Linked DNA regions of Homo sapiens: regions 2, 3, 4 and 5 are each linked to region 1. The links are contacts of gene promoters, found by promoter capture Hi-C in blood cells and fetal thymus (Javierre and others, 2016). All regions are on one chromosome and are shown on one strand. The core of a region is centred on a gene start or on the middle of the fragment in contact, and the rest is flanking DNA. Distances in the headings are between cores, read along the strand shown. Region 1 holds the start of TMEM71 (transmembrane protein 71). Region 2 has its middle 7.6 kb from the start of ST3GAL1. Region 3 overlaps ST3GAL1 (ST3 beta-galactoside alpha-2,3-sialyltransferase 1). Region 4 overlaps ST3GAL1 (ST3 beta-galactoside alpha-2,3-sialyltransferase 1). Region 5 has its middle 11 kb from the start of NDRG1.

Evidence for each region. The method cuts DNA at HindIII sites, captures the fragments that hold promoters and counts their contacts. A CHiCAGO score of 5 or more calls a contact.
Region 2: a contact is called between a fragment that was not itself captured here and the fragment with the promoter of TMEM71 in region 1, in 1 of 17 cell types (naive CD4 T cells). The highest score is 5.3, in naive CD4 T cells.
Region 3: a fragment that was not itself captured here is called in contact with the fragment with the promoter of TMEM71 in region 1 in 2 of 17 cell types (activated CD4 T cells and total CD8 T cells); the score reaches 8.4 in activated CD4 T cells.
Region 4: a fragment that was not itself captured here is called in contact with the fragment with the promoter of TMEM71 in region 1 in 1 of 17 cell types (activated CD4 T cells); the score reaches 6.0 in activated CD4 T cells.
Region 5: a contact is called between a fragment that was not itself captured here and the fragment with the promoter of TMEM71 in region 1, in 7 of 17 cell types (activated CD4 T cells, total CD4 T cells, naive CD4 T cells and 4 more). The highest score is 7.4, in activated CD4 T cells.

What each region holds. Positions count from the first base shown.
Region 1 is chr8:132,759,271-132,762,011 of GRCh38, forward strand. TMEM71 (transmembrane protein 71) reads right to left here and starts at 1,312. Exons shown (of 10, transcript NM_001382403.1): 1 at 1,206-1,312. The HindIII fragment of the contact is 4,740 bases long and covers 1,094-2,741 here.
Region 2 is chr8:133,578,076-133,580,816 of GRCh38, forward strand. No RefSeq gene overlaps it. Among named protein-coding and RNA genes, the nearest start is that of ST3GAL1, 7.6 kb to the left of the region's middle. The HindIII fragment of the contact is 2,348 bases long and covers 183-2,530 here.
Region 3 is chr8:133,557,427-133,560,167 of GRCh38, forward strand. The region is part of intron 1 of ST3GAL1 (ST3 beta-galactoside alpha-2,3-sialyltransferase 1); the gene reads right to left. Among named protein-coding and RNA genes, the nearest start is that of ST3GAL1-DT, 12 kb to the right of the region's middle. The HindIII fragment of the contact is 1,310 bases long and covers 677-1,986 here.
Region 4 is chr8:133,537,049-133,539,789 of GRCh38, forward strand. The region is part of intron 2 of ST3GAL1 (ST3 beta-galactoside alpha-2,3-sialyltransferase 1); the gene reads right to left. Among named protein-coding and RNA genes, the nearest start is that of ST3GAL1-DT, 32 kb to the right of the region's middle. The HindIII fragment of the contact is 2,210 bases long and covers 269-2,478 here.
Region 5 is chr8:133,306,660-133,309,400 of GRCh38, forward strand. No RefSeq gene overlaps it. Among named protein-coding and RNA genes, the nearest start is that of NDRG1, 11 kb to the left of the region's middle. The HindIII fragment of the contact is 801 bases long and covers 979-1,779 here.

The DNA.
Region 1 (2,741 bases), core at 62-2,561:
AGTCATTTAGCCCCAAAACAAACTTACGTGTATTTTAATCATCTGACACAAGTCAACTTCATTATCAAGTTTCAAACAGTGCTTGGAGATTGGTGTCTGTCTTTTTCCCAACAACTTGAACCATTGACAGGTAGTCACAGAGAGTGATTTTAATAGTTTTTATCAGCCTGGACATTCCTAAACAGCATAAGTAATGTTGCACTAAAGATAGCATACCATTGGGAAGATTTTAGAACTTAGTTCCCATGAAGACATGATTTAATTTCTCAATTACTAATTAAAAACATATCAAAGTATGTAAATTATGCAAACTTTGATCATTTACTGTTCATCAAATAGAACCAACTTCTGTTGACTATGAAACTTTGTATATAGTATCACTATCCTAATCGCTTTATAAGGTAGGAGTAAATTATTTTCTGATTCACCACTTATGGCCACATTTTGTAACATGAGAACTAGTAATGGATTGTTTTTGTAGCTGTAATTCAATCAATCAAACCAGGCTAATTCTACAGCTTCAAGTTGAATATTTCAATAAATTATATATAAACCCTATTAGGAAAATATAAACCTGGTTTATAGAGACCTGTAAAGATGTCAGGAGAACTTTCTGGCCTTCCTTGGAAGATTTCTAAATCAAAGCACACATTTACAAATTTCATTTGTTTGGGATATAAAATAATCCCAGTGTAATGTAATATATTAGTATGTTACTTGTTCTTTTCATTTTTGATCAATATTGTACGGGTATGCCCAGCCCAAATTACCTTATTTTAGTGTTCCCCAAGTATTAAGCTTAATTTTAAGCCTATAAATCCTGCAGCAAAAGAAGGTCTTATTGCTCTATCTCACAAGTGCTTAGAAGAATCTACAGGCAGTACACTGACATTCAATAGAAAATTAGTAACAGTAGGAAAAAAAAAAGCCCTTCAGTTACAGATCTAAAACTTTTCAAGAAACAGAATCTGCCAGTTCCATCAAAGCGACACATCTATTCTGAAAAATAATGTGTGCATACGTGTTCCTTCCAAAGGGAGTTCCCAGCCTCTTCTTCCAATTGACAAAGGACAAAATTATTACTGAAATACGAAGCTTCCTGTGGTTGACAGTGGAAAAATTGAGGACTGAGCAGTTCCTCGGCTGAAAAATGTCTGAATGTCAACAGGTGCAGAAGTCTCTTAATAAAGGGAATCCCACCCTACCTTCTTCTCACAGATGCCCACGCACATTGCTGTGCACAGGTGCTTGCAGAGAAGTTTTGTCTTCGGCAGCCTCTTGTTCTCTTGTCTGTTTCCTGGTATAAATGAGTGTATAGTTCTTGGGAAAGTCAGTCTTACAACTTCTCTTGTTTTCTTTTGAAAACAGCCTGCGTAACCAGAGGCAAAGAAGCAGAATGAGGTCACACTTCCTGTTGGGCTCACATCAGTGGCATTCACACTGAGGAGTGTGCTGAAGATTTCAGAGAGTTTCCTGGGCCAGCAGCAGGGAATGTGCAGCCCATGTGTCAGGCCAGCTGGTTACACCCTGGTCACTGGAGGGGTGGTTTTCTGAGCTAACTTGTCACCTTTGGCTGCGAGAACGTGAGAAAGACTCAGCGAACTGACATTTCTTGCTCATCATATGGCCACATTCAGTTATAAGTAGTGCAGAGTAGTGATCTTTGTCCAAATCACTTAAATTTATTGAGGATAATGCACTGATGCTATTAAATTCAGAATACTATTAAATAGCAAGAGCTTGATCTTATGAAAATTTCTATAGAGGCAATAGGTTTATCTAATGAAGGTTGGACTTCACAAAAAACTCTATAGATGGCATTTTACATTTACATTATAGTAGAGCTCAAAGACTTGATGGTGTTTATGGGTTCATACACATCTGTACTACTGTAAGTGATAAAAGAAATGTACATTCAAATATATATTCCAGCAACATTGAGGTACCACTGCATAGTGGAAAGAGTGCGGATTCTGGGGTCACAAGACAGAAATTCAACCTGTCTACCATCCTAGCTGTGTGACCTCAGATTTGTGACTTACCCCTCTGAGTTGCAGTTTTCTCAATTATAAACATAAAAATATATATGTCATATGATGGCTTGAAGAATTAAATGAAATAAAAGAAATGAGAAATAATCGAGTCCTCAGCACAGATGTGCAAGGTGTATTCTTTATTTGTTTTCTTAAATCAAGTTCTCTTCTGAGGCACCAGTTGGTCCGGCTGGCGGAAAAGTTAATCTCATCCTTTCCTGGGGTTCCCTTTCCCCCTGAGGTTCTGCCACATGGCAGGATCTTCTGTAGAACATGTTCTAGGCAGCAGGAACTGTCAGGAGGAGGGCCCATCTAATTTCAAAGTTCTCTGTCTCTGGAACTTCATGTCTATTCTCCATCCCTTGAGTGTAGACTGAGGCTGCTGACATGCTCCTTGTAAATAAAGTAAGGCAAAGGTGCTGAGTTTCCACTACCATGATGAGGCTTCCATCTTGTTGGACTCTATTACTTTCTTGCTTGCCTGCTTTGATGAAGCAAGCTGCCATGGTGGAGAAGCCCATGTGTCAAGGAATCAAGAGTGGTCTCAAAAGCCAGTAAGGGTCTGATGCTCCATCCAACAGCCAGGAATCCAGCCAAAAACCAAGTGTGTGAGCTTGGAAGTGGATCCTTCTCCAGTTGAGCCTTGAGCTGACTGCAGCCCCATCTAATGCTCGATTGGAACTGGGAAAGACCCAGAAGCAGACAACC
Region 2 (2,741 bases), core at 107-2,606, 820 kb after region 1:
CCTGGGTGTGGATGTGGATGACATTGAGTAATTCCTAGAGGGGGTTCCTGAGGAATTGACTAATGGGTTGCTGTTGGAACTGGAATAGGAGTGCATAGCTGAAGAAGAGGTAAAGAAAAAGAAAGTGCAGGAGAAGGGAAAAAAGAACTCCCAAGAATACTCACAGTGATGGGTTTAGCAGAAGCTTCTTCAGTCTCCAACAAGCTCCTTAAGAAGTCTGAAAACATGGACCCCAAAACTGAAAGGTTTTCACTAATAGAGAGGAAAGTTCATGGTGCATTATCTGCCTACAAGCAAAACCAGGATTCAAAAAACCCTTTGAGCTGGAGCTTCAAAGCACAAAAAAAAAAAAAAAAAAAAAAAAAAGAAAAAGAAAAAAGAAACAAATGAAGCAAACCACCATGGACATAGTTATGAGTCTATTAGTGATGGGGATACGTTCTGAGGAATGTGTTGTTAGGCAATTTCATCCCTGTGCCAGCATCATAGTGTACTTATGCGAATATAGATGGTAAAACCTACTGCACACCTGGGCTATATGGTTTAGCCTATTCCTCTTAGGCTGCAAACCTGTACAGCATGTTATTGTACTGAATACTGTAGGCAATCGTCACTCCATGGTAGGTATGTATGTATGTATCTAAACATATCTAGACATAGAAAAGGTACTATAGAAAAACAGTATAAAAGATAAAAACGGTATGCCTGTATAGGCCACTTACCATAAGTGGAGCATGCGTTACTGGAAGTTGCTCTAGGTTGAGTCAGTGAGTGAGTGGTGAGTGAATGTGAAAGCCTAGGACATTACCGTATACTATTGTAGACTTTATGAACACTACACTTGGGCTACACTGAATTTATAAAAATGTGTTTTTCTTCAATAATAAATTAACCCTAGCTTGTTGTTACTTTTCTTACTTTATACACTTTTTAAACTTTTTTGACTTTTTTGTAATAAAACTTAGCTTAAAATACAAACACATTGAACAGCTGCACTAAAAATATTTTCATTTTCTTTTCTTTTTTTTTTTTTTTTGGTATTGGAGTTTCACTCTTTTGCCCAGGCTGGATGGCAGTGGCATCATCTTGGCTCACTGCAACCTCCGCTCCCCGGGTTCAAGCGATTCTCCTGCCTCAGCCTCCCGAGTAGCTGGCATTATAGGTGCACACCACCAGGCCAGGCTAATTTTTGTATTTTTAGTAAAGTCGAGGTTTCGCCATGTTGGCCAGGCTGGCCTTGAACTCTTGACCTCAGGTGATCCACCCACCTCAGCCTCCCAAAGTGCTAGGATTACAGGCATGAACCACTGCACCCAGCCTAAAAATATTTTCTTTATATCCCTATTTCACAAGTTTTTTCTATTTACAAATTATTTATTCATTTACTTTTCCAACTTTTTTGGTAAAATTAAGACACAAACACTCACATCAGCTTGGGCCCACACAGCGTCAGTCATCAATATCACTGTCTTTCACTGCATATCTTGAAACACAGGAAGGTCTTTAAGGGCAATAACCTGCATGGAGTTGCCATCCCCTAAGGTAACAGTGCCTTTCCCTGGAACACATCCTGAAGGTCCTGCCTGAGGCTGTATTACAGTGAACTCTGTGAGGTTTGCATAGCCATTAAATTGCCTAATGACGCTTTTCTTGGAATGTGTCTCTGTCATTAAGCCACTCCTGATGGTCTTAGACCCGAAATCTATGCTAAGCCATCTGGTTAGTCTCAGTCCATCCTGCCCACCCTAATCTCTTTGTCAAAAATCAGCTCATGAATGAATAGCTTTAATCCCTACTTGGACCACCAAGATAAAGAGATAAATATATTGAGTCTTCTAGGAAAAAAGTTTCTAAGAGTAAGCCCTGAATATAGCTTATTTCTAACTGGACATGAACAAAAGAGCATTTTTAACACAGTTGCTCTGGGAGGCATCTTTGTGCCCATGAAGAAAGCCAAATAAAGACATTAGGTTCAGAGTCGTAATCACACTAATGCATGAAGTCTGTTCTGGACTTTCTGTTTCATGAGTCAATAAAATTCTTTTGCTTACTCCACTTTAGGTCATAGTTCTGTTACTTGCAACAAAACCCTTGATAACGACAGTTAGATTGATTGTCCCGAAGCCCCTCTCCTTCCCTCAAGTCATTTCCAAGCTCTAACCCTTTAAAACATTTGTGGCTTCCCATTGCCTAGGGGTGTAAGTCCAGATTTCTGAGTCTAGCAGTTAAGACCCTCGGTGTGGTCCCAACGTGTGTTTCTCACTTGTTTCCTTCTAATACTCCTCTTTACAAACCCTCTACTAGCAGGCATAGCTTGGCCCAGAAGCTCTGGTTAACTTATATGTTATGTTCTTAAAATCAACATAGATCTCTATCTTGCTGGGCTGGTGAAGCCCCCAAGATATACAGAAGTCCAGAGGGCTAATGCAGGGCCTGGTGTGAGGAAACTCTGACTCCTGGCAATCCTCACTGCTTCTGCAGAGCCTCCCACTGTCCTGGGCTGCGAGATCCATAAGGATCATGGTTCCTAAGCTTCCTTGCCATAAGGTCCAGCTGGCCCAGATATATGCATTTCCTAGGATAGCCATAACCAACTACTACAAACTGTGTGGCCAGAAACAGCAGAAATTTATTTTCTCACAGTTCAGGAGGCTGCAATGAAGGTGTTGCAAAAGTTAGTTCCTGCTGGAGACTCAGAGAGAAACTGTCCCGTGCCTTTCTATATGACCTCATCTCAACTT
Region 3 (2,741 bases), core at 82-2,581, 800 kb after region 1:
GAGAGGATAACTGAGTGGTAATGCAGGCCTTGGCAGTATCACCCCACGGGCTGGCCTCCTATCCAGGTTCTGCCTGATGATGGGTTGAGCTGTCGCACCAGCCAGGCCCTGTCTGTGCTGTCCTCTCGGCTGTAAAATAAAGAGGCCGTGGTCTGACTCACACCTGTAATCCCAGCACTTTGGGAGGCCAAGGCAGGCAGATCATGAGGTCAAGAGTTTGAGACTAGCCTGACCAACATGGTGAAACCCTGTCTCTACTAAAAATACAAAAATTAGCCAGGCGTGGTGGCGCGTGCCTGTAATCCCAGCTACTTAGGAGGCTGAGGCGGAAGAATTGCTTGAATCCAGAAGGTGGAGGTTGCAGTGAGCTCAGGAGGCTGAGGCAGGAGAATTGCTTGAATCTGGGAGGCGGAGGTTGCAGTGAGCTGAGATCATGCCACTGCACTCCAGCCTGGGCAACAGAGTGAGACTCCGTCTCAAAAAAAAAAAAAAAAAAAAGAGGCCAGTGTCTTGAGGTCCCCCTCATGGCTAAAATCTTAGGTATGTCTCTTGTGCCTCTGATGTCCAGTGATGATACCCTAGCTTCACAGCCCAGACAACTTTCCCATCCTTAAATTCAGATAGCTCCTAAGAGCACCATTCTGCCATCTGCTCCAGGAAGCGCTCTCTGGTTGGAAGCTTTGAATGAGAAAGAGCCTTCTAAACCGCAAAGCTGCCCAGAGGTCAAAACACCACTGTGTGGGGCACAGAGCTCCCTACCACAGGTAGTGAAAAATGCAGCTCAAGGAGGCGGAACAAGAATGTAATTGATGATGATGTGTTGCCACAGCATATCTTTAACAAGGACTCTTCTGAGCACGGTCCAAGTGTTAACTCATTGAATGCTTATTTATTACCTCCTGGGAGGTAGGTACCATTGTTATCCAGATTTTATGGATGAGGAAAGGGAAGTACAGAGAGGTTCAGCAACTTGCTGAAGGACACGCAGTTAGGCAGTGGCAGAGCTAATACTTTTATGAGTAAATCAAGGAATCAATGAAAGACTCAGTAGATAGAAGAAGGTTGAACAAGGTTACTGCAAAGGCTCTTTGCAAATGCTAAGATTTTATAATTCTTTGACACTATTTAAGTGTGCAACCTCTGTAACTAATTATTCAACCAACATACCATGCCCCCGTCCTCCCGCAAGTAATGGTGACTAAAGTTTATGACACCATGGCTCAGAGAAAAAGAGAAAACCTCCTTTACTCCATCCGGGGCAGGTTCCTGACAATGCAGAAGTATTCTGATATTCAAAACTGTCTCCACAGCCAGTATATTTTTTTCTCCTTGTTTGGATTTCTGACATTGCATAAATGTCAGTTTAATGTATAAAATCCTATGCCGCAGGTCTTCCAATAATGCTGTTTCATTCAACAGCATTTCATTATAACATTGATGAGAAGAATACGGATTCCCGGCCGGGACCACTGTGTGTGTGGAGTTTGCAAGTTTTCCTCATGTCCTCGTGGGTCTTCTCCAGGCACTCCAGTTTCCCACACCCCAAAAAGCTGTGCATATCAGGTGAACTGCTGTGTTTATGTGGTCCCAGGGCGATAGAGTGTGGTTTTGTGTGTGTGTGTGTGTGTGTGTGTGCATGTGTGCACGTCCTAAGCCACTGGGACAGGCTGTGGCCACCTGCGATGCTGTTTGGGGCCTTCATTTAGAAGTTTGGTGATATTTTTATGAACAGAAATACATCAGAGATACTTAACTCTTGTTTATATCAGTTACCCTATGGTGAAATCAGTTTTTTATGTCGTTTCCCTTAAACTCACAATTTCCAAGGACCTATCGATGTCATTAAATGAGGACTTACTGTGGTCCAAGGATCATGTTTGCTGAGCTCAGTTTGTTCCAGGTCGCAGGGAGAAACAGAAAATAGCAGCAGACCTTAGGTTGGAACCAGTTCTTCAACCCATTCTGAAAGGTGTGTTTTCCATTTGAAGCTTCTATCAGGTGGTGAAAGAAAGAACGATGGTACTGTCTGCCTAATCTCTCCCTTTCATTTTAATTTCCTTTTTTTGCCAAAAGACTGAATTTTAAAACATAAGATTATGTTTTAGAAACAACCAGTAATACACCTCACAAAGACATTCCTATTCGTGGCAGCTAACATGTTTCCTGAGCAACGGTCTTTATTCATCAAACTCTCCACCAGGTGGTAGGATTAACAGTGTTTTCAAGTAAGAAGAAGAACAACAAACCTTTCTCTCCATTGTGAAGATGTTATTAAAAGGGAATTTTCCAAGGTTGCAACAGCGACGCTGACGATTCCTTTTACGTGAAGCAGGTTGCCTCCAAGAGGCTCCCATCTAGCTAGGGAGCTGGCTAAGTTTACACGCCTGATTGCAAACTTTGCACTCAGCCTTCCTGCTCAGTCCTTTCTCCAAACCCCCCGGCAGGCTCAAAGTGGCTCACCGCCTCCCTCAATCCCCAGGCACCTTGGGGCTCTTCGAATTCAATTTATAACAACAAGCCACAAAGATGAGTTCTTGCAAGCAGCCATGCAGGGACGGATGTGGAGCAGTTAAAGGAAACAAAATTACAGATAGGAGGAATAGGTTCTAGTGTTCTGTGGCACTGCAGGGTGGCTATAGTAAACAAGGATTTATAATATATTTTCATATTTTCAAATAGCTAGAAGAGAGGATTTTGAATGTTCCCAACACAAATGATGAATGTTTGAGGTGACAGATATG
Region 4 (2,741 bases), core at 124-2,623, 780 kb after region 1:
CCTACCCCAAACACAAGCCTCAAGTCCGGGTCTCTGCAACTTCTGACCAACTGGCTTCAAATTGGGTTCCCATGACCCCCTTTCTGGGCTCAATTAATTTGCTGGAAGGGCTCACAGAACTCAGGAAAACATATTTACTGGTGCAAAGGATACAGATAGAGAGATGCGTGGGGGGAGGTATGGGGGAAGGGGCATGCTACCCTCCAGGAACCTCCAGTGCTCAGCTATCTGGAAGCTCTTCCAACCCAGTCTTCTGGGGTTTTATGGAAGCTTCCTGACATCAGCATTCCTTCTCCCAGGGTACAGGGTAGGACCCTCTCTGGGGAGGATCTCAAGACCCACAGTCAGAAAGTCAGGGAAAGATTAGAGTCCTGTGTTAGGGCAGGGGAAGGAAGGCAGGAGAAAGTTGGAGACATCCTGTGTCCTGAGGCCTGCCACACCCAATATTATCACAAAAGGCTGTAACAAGGGCTACAAAAGAATGAGCCAGGAACTGTGGAGGAAATCCAATAATCATCCTAACACTACACTGCCTAAGCTCCAAGGGCTGGAGAAAAGCATCCAGGAGGGGTGCCAGGCTTGCAGAACGCCAGGCCCATTCTCTGGAACCCTCTACAGCTTGCACATCCCTGCAGCATCCATCTCCCCTGGGGGCCGGGATTGGCCCCACTGAATCAAGAAAACAAGGCCCTGCATGAATGAAGGTCACGAGGCTGGCAAGCAGCAGAGGCATCTGGAATCTTGTTCCTACAAACACAGGGCCCGGCTGTCTTGGATCTTTGAGCACCCAGGGAGGGCACTTCCTGTTGCCGGCTGCCATGGTTTCAGCTGTCCGGTGCCTGACCTTTCTAGAAGATGGTAATGATGAGAGTTGTGACTGCAAAGCCTCTAGCCAACAACTGAGAAGAGCTACACTCTGAGGTCTGGAAGGTCTGTGCGTCTTCTGCTCCATTTTACACATGAGACAATAGGGGCAGGGAGGGGCTGCATTTGAGGGCACTGCGGAACCATGGAGGGCTTCCGAAAGATCTCTCTAGTGAAAGCTGGAGGAAGAAAGTATAGGCAGAAGGAGCAAACAGCAGGCCAGACTAAGTTCCATGACAGCAGAAACCATGTTTTTGTTTTTTGCTGCTGTATCCGAAGTACCCAGCATGTCAAAGGCATTGAATTAAAACCTACTGAATGGCCGGGCATGGTGGCTCATGTCTGTAATCCCATCACTTTGGGAGGCCAAGGTGGGGGGATCACCTGAGGTCAGGAGTTCGAGATCGGCCTGGCCAACATGGCGAAACCCCATCTCTACTACAAATATAAAAATTAGCCAGGTGTGGTGGTGGGAGCCTGTAATCCCAACTACTTGGGAGGCTGAGGCAGGAGAATCACTTGAACCCAGAAGGCGGAGGTTGCAGTGAGCTGAGATTGCACCATTGCTCTCCAGCCTGGGCGACAGAGCGAGACTCCATCTCAAAAAATAAATAAATAAATAAATAAAACCTATTGAATGCATGTGTGAGTGAGTCTGTTACAGCTGCCCAGGAGAGGATGCAAAAGGCTGAGGGAATCCAAGCACTGTTAGCACTTGGCATTCCTTTCTCTGTGCATATGTAATTAGACATCCCACCTTCACACCAAAAATTAGAGCATTCCACCATGCTGGTTAAAAACTCCTTGTGTGGCTCAAATGCATATTATTCCATTCTGCGGCTGTACTGGATGTAGCTCATCTCCTAATCTTGACATTGCAGGTATTTCCAGCATATTGCTTAAAAGCAGTAGGCAGTGAGGATGATGGGGAGGCAGCAAGGGGACTGGGCTCTGGAGACGCTGTAAGCCTTCACAGCGCAGCCCCCCAACTTATTAGCTGTGTGACTGTTAAGTTACTTAACCAGTCTGTGCCTGGGTTTCATCATCCGTAAAAAAGGGAAATGACAGCAGCTGGCTGCCAGGGAGGCTGTGGGGTGAAATCTATGTGTGTGGGGTTGTTACAAAGGCGTAAGGGCCACAGCCAGCCCTGCGAGAGTGCTCACAAACACTCCCCCAGCCCCAGGACTCCTGAGCTCAGCTGATTCCTGAGAATGCAGTCCCTGATGTGGGATCACAGGTCAGCCCGCAGAACTTCAAGGAAAGTGCCTTCGAAAATCCCAGCAGAACCAAGAAGAACGAAGTTCTTTCGCCCTGTTCCCTGAGCCCAAGCACAAGGACTCAGAGGATCCAGAAGGCAAGTAAATTCACTGTACCATGGAGCACCAGGATTCCCACCGCCAACTCCCCTTGTGGCCAGCTCACCCGGCAGGCAGCAGGTAAGAGAAGGCACTCTCGCTGACACTGCAGCTCACAAAGCGGGCAAAGAACCAGAGCACGTCCAGGAAGCTGACGCTCCAGCCCCTGGGCTGCACCCCACTTATCTAGGGCTTGCATTTTATTTCAAAGTCATAACTTTGCATTATTTTTCCTTAAAGAAAACTCCCAAATTGTATAAGCTTCAGGACCCAAAGAACCAGAACTGCACCTAAACATACCACCGATTTATTAATTGATCTTTTTCTCCCATTAAATTATTATCATCGGCCAGTTATGGTGGCTCATACCTGAAATCCCAACGCTTTAGGAGGCTGAGGCTGGGGAATTGCTTGAGCCCAGTAGTTCCAGACCAGCCTGAGTGGCACAGCAAAACACCATCTCTATAAAAAATATAAAAATTAGCCAGGCATGGTGGCGCACGCTCGTATTCCAGCAACTCA
Region 5 (2,741 bases), core at 129-2,628, 550 kb after region 1:
GTCCTCCTCATTTTTCCTTTAAAAGTCTTTGGCTTTTTTTTAACCTCCCTAAATATGAATATAGTTTAGTATTACACATGTATTCCCATTGCAATGTTTATTCTCAAAGAAATATAATTTTCTTTAAGAGATTCTCCCTCTCTATTATTTAGGATAACGTAACTGGTGTCAGAAGTGGGATTTGAAGCCCGATAATCTTTGGAGAAAGTGTGTGATTCTTGGAAGTGGTGTGCAGTCAGCACATCTGAGTCCTTTGAGCTCTTTTCTTCCACAGCTCACCTTTTCATCCCTGGTGAGCATTCTCTTAGGCCAAGACTCCATTTTTTTGGTAAAAGCTCTTTGACTTTATTTGAGACCTGATTTGGGCAAGCCCAACTCAAATAAAAGACCTTGCATTCCTCCTGGGAAAAATAAGATTTTTTTTGTTTTTTTCTGACAAGTCCCTTCTAGTACAAAGTGATCTTGTCTTTCTGATGGGTATACTTTTCTGGTTTCTATGGAACTTATGTTCTGTTAGTGAGGCATGCCTTTACTGGTGCATTCACTATTGATTCCTTCTGCATACCTGGTTTAATATTTTGCTTGATCTGCGTGCCTGGCTTAAGATTTTTGTAAACACTTTGATTTTGGTTTATTTTAGTTTGGCTATGCATGTCTATATATAATTTGGATTATTTTCCCCCATGCTTGTTTCTGAGCGTTTTCTGAGAACAAAAATAAACATTCTAAATGGTGGATGTGAGATGACCAATTAAAAGCCACTGGGGAGGTTGCCATCATCTAAAACACTGGTCTAAACTCTTGACATTCCCTGACAGGATTTATAGGATTTACTCTGCTCTCAAGAGAATAAGAAATGAAATGGGATTCTCAAATATTAAGGCATGCCAGTTTTCTGGGACTCCATCCAGCTACATGGCTTTTCCTCATGCACATTTTTAAATCAGTGGCCCTCATAGGAATCATCAGAACTCCCCAAGCTTGTTTTCCTTGGTACCAAATTTTAAAACTGCAACTATAAGGTTAAAATAAAATGCCAGCACGTAAAAGCTCTTAATTGATCTATCTCTCTTTATTTCCCTTTTTTTAACCTCCTCTCCCATTGCTTTAAATCTGCTCTCTTTTTCACTGTTATTAAGATAATCTACTGTTGTTAATTTCAAAAACACTAAAAGGTTTTTCTTAGGGCACTTCAGCCAAGACTTTAAAAGCGAGAGAGTGCTTTGAAATTACAACAGCTCCATGATAACCAACAACCTAACCTTGCACACCTAAGAGCCATCCCTTTTGGAAATGCAAATTTAGGTTTACTGAGCTATAATCACTTAGTGTGATGGAACAGTTAATTAAAAGATTGATAATCTAAAAGAGAAACAACAAGACAGCATGTTTATAAAAGTTATGTTCTCAGATCAAACAGGTCAAAGTCTTGAGATCAGAACAATAATATAAGGTTTCCCTATCCAGCGTAAAAATTTTGCTTTGTCTGCCACACATACACCAGCAAAAGCCAAGGAAAAAACCCCGAAACTATAAACATCTTTCTCTAAAATGTTCCCTGCCCACATCAACTAATCAAGCAAACCAGACCTATAAACAAAAAGATAAATGTGTTGCTAAAATTCAAGGCCACCTGGATATTTTTCCCTTGTACAATTTAGCCAGTCATAACTGAAATATAAACATTTAAATATTTAAACCCTGAACTCATTTAAGCTAAAAAAAATGATAAAAAGAGGTTTTTAAAAAGCAAACTGCAATGAAAACCTCTTTACTTGAAGCTTTGGTACACAGCCTTCGTGAGATTACCTACGGAGTAAAGTAAAATGTAGCCAGAAAAACAGGTTCCAGTTTATCAGAAATATCATTTGGATCCAACTGTCCTTGCATAAATCAGTGAATTTATATTGCTGTGTTTTACTGGTAGAGAATCTGCTTTTGTGTATTTGTGTTGTCTGTCTGTTTTCATTTTGTTTGTATATTTTTCTACCAAAATATATTACAAAGCCTTAATTAATTAATTGACTTGAAACCTTAAGTACTTAAATCAAGTATTTCATCAAAAATATACTAACTCGGTTTTAAGTTCATAAAACTTAGATAAATCTTTGGTAAATAAAATAATTTTAAAATTGTTGGTAAAATAAAAATAGAAATGTCTTCAGAATTGCCAACATATGTTTTTCCCTGGGTTTAGTGATCAGATCATTTTATATTTGTCTTTGCTAGATGCTTTAACATGTCAGGCAAGGTTTAACACTAAGGTCATAAAACGATAAACCCAGCCTAAAAAGAGAATGATCTTTGTTTATGTAAGTCTTTGGTAATTAAAACTAATTTAATATTATTGATTTAATGAAAACAGCTATAGTTTTGAAGTTATCCACAAAATGCTCAAATATTTAACTTTAAGGTCCTTACTTGGGTGATAAACGCCTGATTTATTCACAGGCTATAAAAATGGTTAACAAAATAATAGCTTACGATAATGACTAGCCTTGTCTAATATCTCAGGTTTCATAAATAATCTAAGTATAATTGTGAAAAATAAATAAATTAGGTAAACGTAAATGGCACAAATGTTTATAAACTCTTCATAGTTTCAAAAAATCTTTTTGGTAACTTTAAATCTCAAAATTATATTAAATTAAGAAATAAATACTCATTAAGCATCTGGGTCATTTTCAAATAAGATCAAATACTAAAACATACATTGCTAAACATAAATATATTTGTTCCTG